Linked DNA regions of Homo sapiens: region 2 is linked to region 1. The links are contacts of gene promoters, found by promoter capture Hi-C in blood cells and fetal thymus (Javierre and others, 2016). All regions are on one chromosome and are shown on one strand. The core of a region is centred on a gene start or on the middle of the fragment in contact, and the rest is flanking DNA. Distances in the headings are between cores, read along the strand shown. Region 1 holds the start of UBL7 (ubiquitin like 7). Region 2 holds the start of CYP1A2 (cytochrome P450 family 1 subfamily A member 2).

Evidence for each region. Contacts are between HindIII fragments. The CHiCAGO score rates a contact against its expected background, and 5 or more counts as called.
Region 2: the fragment with the promoter of CYP1A2 here is called in contact with the fragment with the promoter of UBL7 in region 1 in 2 of 17 cell types (M2 macrophages and neutrophils); the score reaches 7.1 in M2 macrophages.

What each region holds. Positions count from the first base shown.
Region 1 is chr15:74,459,694-74,465,587 of GRCh38, forward strand. UBL7 (ubiquitin like 7) reads right to left here and starts at 1,467. Exons shown (of 11, transcript NM_032907.5): 1 at 1,344-1,467. UBL7-DT (UBL7 divergent transcript) reads left to right here and starts at 1,572. Exons shown (of 4, transcript NR_120377.1): 1 at 1,572-2,334. RefSeq lists enhancers at 33-552, 708-1,554, 1,009-1,098, 1,389-1,538, 2,486-2,986 and 1 more. The HindIII fragment of the contact is 11,059 bases long and covers 1-1,579 here.
Region 2 is chr15:74,745,544-74,751,642 of GRCh38, forward strand. It overlaps CYP1A2 (cytochrome P450 family 1 subfamily A member 2), which reads left to right and starts at 3,302. Exons shown (of 7, transcript NM_000761.5): 1 at 3,302-3,354; 2 at 4,187-5,026; 3 at 5,646-5,766. The coding sequence starts at 4,196. RefSeq lists a cis regulatory region at 1-1,971, promoters at 97-3,392, 778-1,326, 3,058-4,195 and an enhancer at 946-1,204. The HindIII fragment of the contact is 9,803 bases long and covers 1-5,312 here.

The DNA.
Region 1 (5,894 bases), core at 217-2,716:
GGTGGCTCATGCCTGTAACCCTAGCACTTTGAGAGGCCTAGGCGGGCGGATTGCCTAAGCTCAAGAGTTCAAGACCAGCCTGGCCAACATGGTGAAACCCGTCACTACTAAAAATACAAAAATTAGCTGGGCGTGGTAGTGCGCACCTGTAGTGCCACCTACTCGGAAGGCTGAGGTTGCAGTGAGCCAAGATCACGTCACTGCACTCCAGCCTGGGTGACAGAGAGAGACTCTGTCGCAAAAAAAAAAAAAAAAAAAAAAAAAAAAGCCAGACGCGGTGGCTCACACCTGTAATCCTGTCACTTTGGGAGGCCGCGGAGGACGGATCACTTAAGATCAGGTGTTTGAAACCAGCCTGGCCAACATGGTGAAACTACATCTCTACTATAATAGAAAAAATTTGCAGGGCGTGGTGGCAGGCGCTTGTAATCCCAGCTACTTGAGAGGCTGAGGCAGGAGAATTGCTTGAACCCGGGAGGTGGAGGTTGCAGTGAGCCGAGATAGCGCCACTGCACTCCAGCTTGGGCGACAGAGACTCCGTCCCTCCCTGCCCCACCCCGGCCCCCCAGAAAAAGACCTCTTCCAATACCTCTAAACCATCTATATAAATTAAGTCTAAACTTCATCGCCTGGCTTACAAAACTCCCTGCCAGCCTCATTCCCCAACAGAGCCCTACCCCTGCAAAGGACCTCCACAACATGTAAGTACACACTCATAACAAAGCTCTCCCCTATTTTACACCTCTGCTCATCTAACTCTGCATGTAATTTCTCTTCCCTTTTTGGCCTTTTAGCAAACTCCTACCGAAACCAACACAGATTCAATAACCTCAGTCCCCTCTCTTTCCTCTGTTGTTCCCACATCCCCTCAGAACAAAAGGGCTACAAATATCTGCTTGCCCCCTCCTCCACCCCAATTCTTGAATGCCCTTGAAAACAAAAGACTAAAGTTTTCTTCATCCTTGTCCCCATACCTGGCATACATGGAACCCCAGAAAATAAATCAGAAACTCTGACGGCGGAAGAATCTTGCAAAGCAAGATAAGTTCTTGTTATAGTCATCATTATTGCTTCCAAAGAGACCTCTGATAGAGAAGAGGAAAGAAAAGGCTGTGAAGCTGCCTAGCAGACCTTCAAGCATCCTCAAGGTATCTTCCACCTCAAGTTTATGCCAGAAGGAGGTCGTTTTATATACCATGTCTCACTTAATCCTCACAACGGTTCCCTAAGGCAGGCATTAGCCACATTTTAAAGATGAGGGAAGCAAGACTCAGTAAAATCACTGGCCCAAGGTCACAGATCGCTAGTAATGGGGCAGGAACACTATCCGGTGGCGACCTCACCGCTCCAGTGGGACCAGCTACTTGGCTGACACACATCGAGCCCGCGCTGCCCAGGGCCCCAGCGCCCTCACCCGTCCCGCGGAAGGAACCCGGCCGCACTGCCGCCGGTGTAAACACTCACTCTGGCCCTCTCGCCGGAAACCGGAAATTCCGCGCTGCATTCTGGGAGTTGCAGTTCCCGCTGTGGCCCCCCGCCCCCTTATAAACAGCCAGTCTACAAGAGGCGCTAGTTGCAAAGCTTCCGGTTCTGGGGGAAGGCGTGGCTTCCGCGCTCTTTGAAATGTCCGGCGCCGGAATGTCTGGGTGCTTTGGTTGGAGAGGGTCCCATTTCCAGTCATTCTTCAGCCTGGTGATTCCCGCGCTCCCCTGAGGAGCATATGAAGTACGTCGGTTCTGCCAGGTTGGAACGCGCTGCTGGACACTCGGCCGTAAGGCGGATCCCGGATCCCCTCCCACTCCGACCCTTCCCTCCAGAAGGGCCGGTTCCCAAACGGCCCCTTTAGACACATCCAAGCGGTTGCCGACGGCCCTCACGATGAAAACTGCTGTCCGTTGGTGAAGGCAGCCTCTTCTGTGCTCCTCGCCGCTGACTTCCTGAGGCGGACCTACCTGTGGAGGCATACCAGGAACCAGACGATGACCCCCTCCAAAAGTTGGGTCTTTGAGGAGAGCTACTAACTTGGGTTCCTGGTACACCCTCTACATGCAGTGGTGAAGCTTATCTAACAGTCATTCATAGAATCAGTTTGGGAAGGGGAATTTTCACTGAACTCTCATAGAGAAACTGTGTTTTAGATAACAGAAAGTTCTGCACGGTTAAAATGGAACAGAAATTTTTTTGCACAGAAATTAGGATTACCGAAAATACTGAAGAAAGACTACCTCTGATTGGACTCTTCTCAAGGAATTAATAATTCAAGAACTAAGGAAAGAAAAAAGTGATTATATGAAAATACTGAAGTTGATCGTAGCAGCTGAAGGCTGATCCTGTGTGGGTAAATGTAAACGCTGAATTCCCACATTCCAATGTGCGACCTGGGATTAAGGCAGCAATTGAGCAGGGTAATGTTACTGAGGAGAGCGAACAGATCGCAGGATCTCAGAAGGCCTAACATTAAAGGCAGATCACCCCTCTGTTCTCATAAGTTATATGGGGAGTTTTGAAATGGCTTTCACTGTCTTCAGGGAGTTTATCTTCAGGATAACTCCCATGTATGTTGTGGGCGCATTAGGAACCCATGGCTGTTCCCAAAGTCTCCCTTTCCCATCCTACCCATTTTTAGATATACCCCCTCTTTCAGTAATCCTTCCTAACTAGACTTCTTTAGACTCCTTCCTCTCCTGCCTACTAAGTTACTTGCACCTGAGCTCCATAATTTATCAAAATTATATATTGTGAATACTTTCCCAGTTCATGATTTTTTTTTTACTCTTAATGGTATTAGATAATTTAATTTCATTTTAAAACTTTTTTTTTTTTTTGAGACGGAGTCTTGCTCTGTCGCCCAGATTGGAGTGCAGTAGTGGCCGATCTCGGCTCACTGCACCCTCCGCCTCCCGGGTTCAAGAGATTCTCATGCCTCAGCCTCTTGAGGAGCTGGGGCTACAGGTACCTGCCACCACGCCCGGCTAATTTTTGTATTTTTAGTAGAGACGGGGTTTCACCACGTTGGCCAGGCTGCTCGAACTCCTGACCTCAGGTGATCCCAAAGTGCTGGGATTACAAGCGGTAGCCACCACGCCCGGCCTGAAATTTTGTTGTGATGGTTAGTGCCTTTTGTGTCCTATGTAAGAAATCTTTGCCTGCCCTCGTTATGAAGATACTATCCTAGGTTTTCTTCTGTGTTATTTTATCTTTCACATTTAGGTCTATGATTAATTTCACATTAATCTTTGTATATGATAGGAGTTAGACATCAAGATTCATCTCTTCCATATGGGTGTACAATTGATCCAGCACTATTTAAAAATTTTGTTCCCACTGAATTTCAGTGGCAGCTTTGTCATAAATCCGGTGACTATGTATGTCTGGGTCAATTTTTGACTCTTATTCTGTGCCATGGGTGTATTTTTCTGTCATTGTGCCAATGTCACACGTCTTGATTTCTCTAACTTTAGAGTAGGTCTTGATATCTGCTAGCCTTTTGGCTTTAAGAGGGGCATGGCTATTCTATCACCAATAGATGACAATTGTTAACTTTGTTTTATGCTTCTAAAAGTATAATTTTACTGAATCTTAAATATGTATATTCAACAAAATTTAGATTACACTGTACATTTGTTTAGTAATCTACATATTTTACCTAGCTTGAATATTTCCCCTGTGCTCAAATATTCTTGAGACTTTTTACTTTGAAATAATTTCAAGTTTACAGTACAGTTGCAAAAATATTACAAAATAATGCCCTCATACCCTTAACCCAAAGTCCCCAGTTGTTAATAGTTTACATTTACCTCATCATTCTTTCTCTCTCACTCTCTCACTATGCATATTGTTCTTTTGTTTTTCCACCCGATCCGTTTAAGAGCCAATTACAGACATTACCCAAAGTATTTCTGTATTTCCTGAAAACAAGGATATATTCTATGTCACAGCCACAGTACAACCCAGCAAAATCAAGAAATTAATAAATACAATAATACCATGTAACTTACAATCTCATTCAGCTTTCATCAACCATTCCAGTTGGGTGGAGGCTGATCATCTCTCTGCCATTTTCATAAGTTATGTCATAGATTTTCACATCTGTCACATCATTCATTTCTCCAAAGAGCCTTAGTTCCTTTTAGTAAGGAATGGTATTTAGAAGCCAAGTTTGGATGCTAGGTGTGTTTATTGCTACTGAGATGTCATTATTTCCAGTCTATTTCAGTGACTAGACCTAGCAAATAAATGAATATTGATATACACACCCATTCATCTATATTTCTATGAAATATATTTAAATATGTGTGCATATAGATGTGTATATGTATATATAGATCTATGTATATGTGAGCATATATATGTGCACATATATCAAAATATATATGTATATATAAAATATGAGTTCACACCAATACCTCAAATTCCAATCCAATACCACATATTTTCCTCTAGTCTTCCTCTTCTCTATAATTTTACCTCCCTTCTGCAATAGTAGGAAACTTGATTCTCATTTTCCACAATATACTTGTATTTTCTCATGTTGACATTCATGGTACCTGATATGGTTTGGCTCTGTGTCCCCACCCAAATCTCATGTTGAATTGTAATCCTCAATGTTGGAGGAGGGGCCTGGTGGGAGGTCATGATGTTTGGATCATGGGGCAGACTTCCCCCTTGCTGTTCTCATGACAGTGAGTTCTCAAGAGATCTGGTTGTTCAAAAGTGTGTAGCACTTCCCCCTTTGCCCTCTCTCTCCTGCTCTGCCATGTGAAGATGTGCTTGCTTCCCCTTCACGTTCTGCCATGATTGTATGTTTCCTGTGGCTTCCCCAGCCATGCTTCCTGTATAGCCTGCAGAACTGTGCGTCAATTAAAGCACTTTTCTTTATAAATCACCTGGTCTCAGGTAGTTCTTTATAGCAGTGCAAGAACAGACTAATACAGTACCATAACAATGGAGCCTCCTCTTCAACTTGATTCTTGAGTCCTTTTGACATAACCCTGGAGGTTTTTGATAGCTCCCTGCTATCTAGCATGACAAGAGTTCCTAGCTAATCTTGTACTTCCTGCCCTAGGCATAAAAATTAGCCATTTCTTCAAGAAATTCATATGGTTTTCTGTGGGAAATGGTATATTAAGACCACAATCTGGGCACTAGGGATGCTTATTGCTACTGAATTGTTTGTTACTTGTAAGCCACATTAGTGGATGGAGCTAGGGGGAGATCTATATCCATAGAGATATAAATAGAGAATATTTATACTGCTACTTCAAATTCAAGACTACAGAGGTTGGGTTTGGTTTTGGCTTTTGGTTTTATGGGTTGCTTTTTGTTTTGTTTTTTTTGAGACAGGATCTCCCTCTGTTGCCCAGGCTGGAGTACAGAGGTGCAATCATGACTCACTGCTGCCTCAAACTCCCAGGCTCAAGCGATTCTCCCACCTCAGCCTGCCAAGTAGCTGGGACTACAGTTGTGCACCACCATGCCCAGCTAATTTGTGTATTTTCTGTGGAGGCAGGGTTTCACCATGTTGCCCAGGCCGGTCTTGAATTACTGGACTCAAGCAATCTGCCCACCTCAGCCTCCCAAAGTAAGACTGCAGAATTTTAATTTAATATTTTCTATATTACATCTTTATTTCCTTTCTTCCACACTGAGAATACTAGTTCTCAAGAACATAAGGGACAACAGTATTTAAATATCTATTTTCATTTCCTTTATCCCATATCACATACCCAACTGTCTCAAAATAACAATACTAATGATACTATCACCACCAATATAATTATTGAGACGTTTAAAAAAATGTTTGCATATGCCCTTCTCATTCTATCCCCTCCATTCATTCTCTCCATTTTAACAGATGTGCTGTATATTATCTGAGCCTATACTCATTACTCTAC
Region 2 (6,099 bases), core at 2,052-4,551, 290 kb after region 1:
CTTGGCTCCCCTCCAAAAAGTGTACATATGACATGATCTCATTTATGTAAAATACAACAAGCAAAACAAATCCATGCAATAGATGTTGGGGTCATGGGTACCCTTGAGAAAGGAACACAACGGGACTTCTTGGATGCTTATGATGTCTCTTGATTAGAGCTGGTTATATGTGTGTTTGTTAAGTTTGCAAAAATTCATCAAGCTACACATGATCGAGCTATACATGACATATGCACTTTTCCATTTATTTATTTATTTTTGAGACAGAATCTTGCTCTGTCACCCAGGCTGGAGTGCAGTGGTGCGATCTTGGCTCACCGCAACCTCCGCCTCTCGGATTCAAGCAATTGTCATGCCCCAGCTTCCCGAGTAGCTGGAATTACAGGTGTGCACCATCACGCCCAGCTAATTTTTTTTTGTATTTTTAGTAGAGATGAGGTTTCACTATGTTGGCCAGGCTGGTCTTGAACTCCTGGCCTCACTCAAGTGATCCTCCCACCTCGGCCTCCCAAAGTGCTAGAATTACAGGTGTGAGTCACCGGTCCCAGCTGACATATGCACTTTTCTATATTGTATCCTGTAATTTAATTTTTTTAAGTTTTAAGAAAACATTAAAAATAAAAAGATAAATAGTCTGTCATACAGGAGAATTTCAAATAGTTTATGGAGATAATCCCCCCTCAAGGAGAAGGAGCGTAATCCCCCACTCCTTCGGTGTGGGCTGTGCATAGTGACTTCCTTCCAAAAGGTACAGTATGGAAAGGTGGGAAAGGAGTAACTTTACAGTGAAGAGACCTGACACGCACTACCTTAGCCAGGTGATCAAGGTCAACATCCACATCTGTAAGTCACATTGATAGGATGTAACCCTGATATGATGTGACGAGAATGGCACCTAACCTCCAAGGTCTTCCCACCAACAAACCATAACCCCAGGCTTACCATGAGAAGAAAAACATCAGGCACATTCCAATAGTGGGCATCCTACAAAATGTCCAACCAGTACTCCTGAAAATTGTCAAGGTCATCAAAAACAAGGATATCCTGAGAAACTGTCACAGCCAAGAGGAATCCAAAGAGACGTGATGACTAAATGTCATGTGATATCCAATGGGTCCTGGAACAGGAAAAGGACATTAGGTAAAACGCAAGGAAATCTAAGTAAACCATGAACTTTAGTTAATTAGAGAGACAGACAGACAGAGAGAAAGAAAGAGTCCATTTTCTATAAAACCGAGCCTAACCTCAAACCTTGACCTTTTTCATTGAGTCATCTGAACCCAATGGAGATATAGACAGGAAACAACTTTCCTCTTCTCCCATTCATGGCCTTCAAACATGCTCTGTTTCTCTATTGGATTCCCCATCCATCTGCCTTGGCATCTTCACAGGTTGATCCCACAGTTTTCTCATTTTCAGGAATAAAAGCCCACTCCAGTCTAAATCAAAACTTCCCTCTCACATCCATGCCGGGCACAGTGGCTCACACCTGTAATCCCAGCAGTTTGGGAGGCCAAGGCAGAAGGATTGCTTGGGCCCAGAAGTTCAAGACCAACCTGGGCAACATGGCAAGACCTCCTCTCTACAAAAAAATGTTTAAAAATAAAAAAATTAGCCAGGCATGGTGCACACACCTGTGATTGTGGTCCCAGCTACTCAGGAGGCTGAGGCAAGAGGATTGTTTGAGCTCAGGAGGTCGAGGCTGCAGTGAGCCATGATTGTGGCACATGAACCCCAACCTGGGTGACAGAGCAAGACTCTGTATCTAAAAAAAAAAAAAAAAGATAGCAAACTTCCTTTTCACATCCAATTTAAGGCTTGTCCTCCTCCTCCTCTTAGATCTGACTGAGATCTGGGTCCATATTAAAGACTCCTTTAGTACAACAAACACCATATATCCTCACGTAAGTCCATGAATATCTGACATTTCTCATATCTACTTTCTCTCGATTTATTGATAGATAGGTATACATTGTTTTAATTTTATGGGTACATAGTAGGTGTATATATGTATGGGGTACATGAAATGTTTTGATACAGGCATGCAATATGAAATAAGCATTCATGGAGAATGGAGTATCCATCCCCTCAAGCAAGGATAAACCTTTGAGTTACAAACAATCCAATTACACTCTTTAAAGGTGTACATTTTTTTTTTTTTTGAGACGGAGTCTCACTCTGTCGCCCAGGCTGGAGTGGAGTGGCACGATCTTGGCTCACTGCAGCCTCCACCTCCCAAGTTCAAGCCATTCTCCTGCCTCAGCCTCCCGAGTAGCTGGGATCACAGGCACATGCCACCATGCCTGGCTAATTTTTGTATTTTTAGTAGAGACGGAGTTTCACCAGGTTGGCCAGGCTGGTCTTGAACACCTGATCTCAGGTGATCCGCCCATCTCGGCCTCTCAAAGTGCTGGGATTACAGGTGCGAGCCATCGCGCCTGGCCTAGAGGTGTACATTTTTTAACAGAACCATTCAAAAGGAGGTTGTGGGGATCATGACACTTCCATGCTACAGCATTAATCTCCTAAGAATAAGGATACACTCCCACATACCATGACACTCTGTTCACACCTAAAAAAATTTACATTTATTCCAGAATATCATCTAATCTCCAGTCCGTGCTTACATGTCCCCAATTGTCCCCAAAACATCTTTTATAGATTTTTTTAAAATTTTGTTTAAATGCCATATCCAATCGATATGGCAATCAAATGCAAATCCATATTGCATTTGGTTATGTCTCTTAGTCTTTTTGCATAAGGGGGGCCTCTCTTTAGGATGCAAAATCTTTATCATCTCTTCTTTTCCACTTGGGGACTTGGGCTGAAAATCAGGAGTGGCTGGAACACGCCCATTTACTGTTTGGTTTTGCAGGTTGTTGGAGGGTACTACAGAAGAACATCCCTCTGGAGAGGGGCCGTGAGCCTGGTTGGCCTAGACTGAGTGCCCTGGCAGAGCTCTTCCTCATGTGTGCAGTGGGAAAGAAGCCCAGATCAGTCCAAAGGCCTAACCCCCACTCCCAGACCCTACCCTACTCTTCAGAGAAATAGGCTCCCTACCCTGAACCCTAAAGACAGCTGTACCTTCATCCCCAGGGACCCAGCACCCCTTCTGGCCTATCCCCAAAGAGTCACCCTGGGTCTTAGGTAGTAGGTGGAGCTGAGGGATAATGGCCCAAGGCCAAGAGTTGATCCTTCCAACTTTGTTCAGTGATCCAGCTTTCATATCAGGTGATCAGGACAACCAGGCCAATCTGATAGGGGGCGGTGTTTATAAAAAGGCCACTCACCTAGAGCCAGAAGCTCCACACCAGCCATTACAACCCTGCCAATCTCAAGCACCTGCCTCTACAGGTACCTTTCTTGGGACCAATTTACAATCTCTGGGATCCCCAACTATAGAACCTGGAAGCTAGTGGGGACAGAAAGACGGGGAGCCTGGGCTAGGTGTAGGGGTCCTGAGTTCCGGGCTTTGCTACCCAGCTCTTGACTTCTGTTTCCCGATTTTAAATGAGCAGTTTGGACTAAGCCATTTTTAAGGAGAGCGATGGGGAGGGCTTCCCCCTTAGCACAAGGGCAGCCCTGGCCCTGGCTGAAGCCCAACCCCAACCTCCAAGACTGTGAGAGGATGGGGACTCATCCCTGGAGGAGGTGCCCCTCCTGGTATTGATAAAGAATGCCCTGGGGAGGGGGCATCACAGGCTATTTGAACCAGCCCTGGGACCTTGGCCACCTCAGTGTCACTGGGTAGGGGGAACTCCTGGTCCCTTGGGTATATGGAAGGTATCAGCAGAAAGCCAGCACTGGCAGGGACTCTTTGGTACAATACCCAGCATGCATGCTGTGCCAGGGGCTGACAAGGGTGCTGTCCTTGGCTTCCCCATTTTGGAGTGGTCACTTGCCTCTACTCCAGCCCCAGAAGTGGAAACTGAGATGATGTGTGGAGGAGAGAGCCAGCGTTCATGTTGGGAATCTTGAGGCTCCTTTCCAGCTCTCAGATTCTGTGATGCTCAAAGGGTGAGCTCTGTGGGCCCAGGACGCATGGTAGATGGAGCTTAGTCTTTCTGGTATCCAGCTGGGAGCCAAGCACAGAACACGCATCAGTGTTTATCAAATGACTGAGGAAATGAATGAATGAATGTCTCCATCTCAACCCTCAGCCTGGTCCCTCCTTTTTTCCCTGCAGTTGGTACAGATGGCATTGTCCCAGTCTGTTCCCTTCTCGGCCACAGAGCTTCTCCTGGCCTCTGCCATCTTCTGCCTGGTATTCTGGGTGCTCAAGGGTTTGAGGCCTCGGGTCCCCAAAGGCCTGAAAAGTCCACCAGAGCCATGGGGCTGGCCCTTGCTCGGGCATGTGCTGACCCTGGGGAAGAACCCGCACCTGGCACTGTCAAGGATGAGCCAGCGCTACGGGGACGTCCTGCAGATCCGCATTGGCTCCACGCCCGTGCTGGTGCTGAGCCGCCTGGACACCATCCGGCAGGCCCTGGTGCGGCAGGGCGACGATTTCAAGGGCCGGCCTGACCTCTACACCTCCACCCTCATCACTGATGGCCAGAGCTTGACCTTCAGCACAGACTCTGGACCGGTGTGGGCTGCCCGCCGGCGCCTGGCCCAGAATGCCCTCAACACCTTCTCCATCGCCTCTGACCCAGCTTCCTCATCCTCCTGCTACCTGGAGGAGCATGTGAGCAAGGAGGCTAAGGCCCTGATCAGCAGGTTGCAGGAGCTGATGGCAGGGCCTGGGCACTTCGACCCTTACAATCAGGTGGTGGTGTCAGTGGCCAACGTCATTGGTGCCATGTGCTTCGGACAGCACTTCCCTGAGAGTAGCGATGAGATGCTCAGCCTCGTGAAGAACACTCATGAGTTCGTGGAGACTGCCTCCTCCGGGAACCCCCTGGACTTCTTCCCCATCCTTCGCTACCTGCCTAACCCTGCCCTGCAGAGGTTCAAGGCCTTCAACCAGAGGTTCCTGTGGTTCCTGCAGAAAACAGTCCAGGAGCACTATCAGGACTTTGACAAGGTGAGCCCGGGGTGCAGGTGGCAAGGGGCACCTTGCAGGGCCTGGGTGCAGCCCCTCCCTCCCAGCTCCAGCATGCCCACACAGCTGCTGTGTTGCCAAGGCCTAGGAAGGCTCTGGACACCTCAGACCAGCTGTGTGACCTGGAGCCGACTCTTCCCCTTCTCTGGGCCTCAGTTTCCTCATCCTTGAAGCCCCCTTCTCAGGGCTCCTCAAAGCCCCCAAGAAAAAAGCCCTGGAAATGGGGCCCTAGCAGAGTCCTGCAATGTGGGGGGCCTATGAGTGAGAAAGCTTTCATTCTGCAGAAACCTAAACCCCAACAGAGGCTAATCCCCAGCTCTGGTGTCACGTTGCTTCCCTGTGTTCACACTAACCTTTTCCTTCTTTGAAATTGGACCCCTGGTGTTATTGGGAGGAAGGGTCAATGGGGCATAAAATGACACTTTAAGCCATACCCAGGGCTGCTACCAGCTCCTGCTGCAAGCTGCAACCCCCTGCCTAGAGACCAAGTTGGGAGGATAGGGGGGTACCCAGCCACCAGGTACAGGCCAGGGGAGTGGAGCAACGTTCAGCCTTTGACCTTGGAAGTGCCAGAGGTGCCCCTAAGCTTGTGCCCCCTCAGAACAGTGTCCGGGACATCACGGGTGCCCTGTTCAAGCACAGCAAGAAGGGGCCTAGAGCCAGCGGCAACCTCATCCCACAGGAGAAGATTGTCAACCTTGTCAATGACATCTTTGGAGCAGGTAGGAACCAGAACCTTGCCCCTCCATCCAACAATGCCTGCTGTTCACCCACAGCCTTGCCCAGCCCCTCAGTCCATGAAATAACCCACCAACCCTACACCAGATGGTACAACATACTGAGATCTGGCTTGGGATCAGGGTTTGAGCCTGGGCTATGCCACCAATTCCCAGTGGAGAAACAGCAAAGTCCTTCTCCTCCCCTAGGCTTCAGTTTCCCCATCTGAACAATAAGGTGTTCTCTGGCCTGTAAGTCTAGGCCCCTATAATTCCAGCAGCTAATTCTGAAACCTGTATCTCAAGTTTATGTTGAAGAGACCCAGCCTCTGTCTTCAG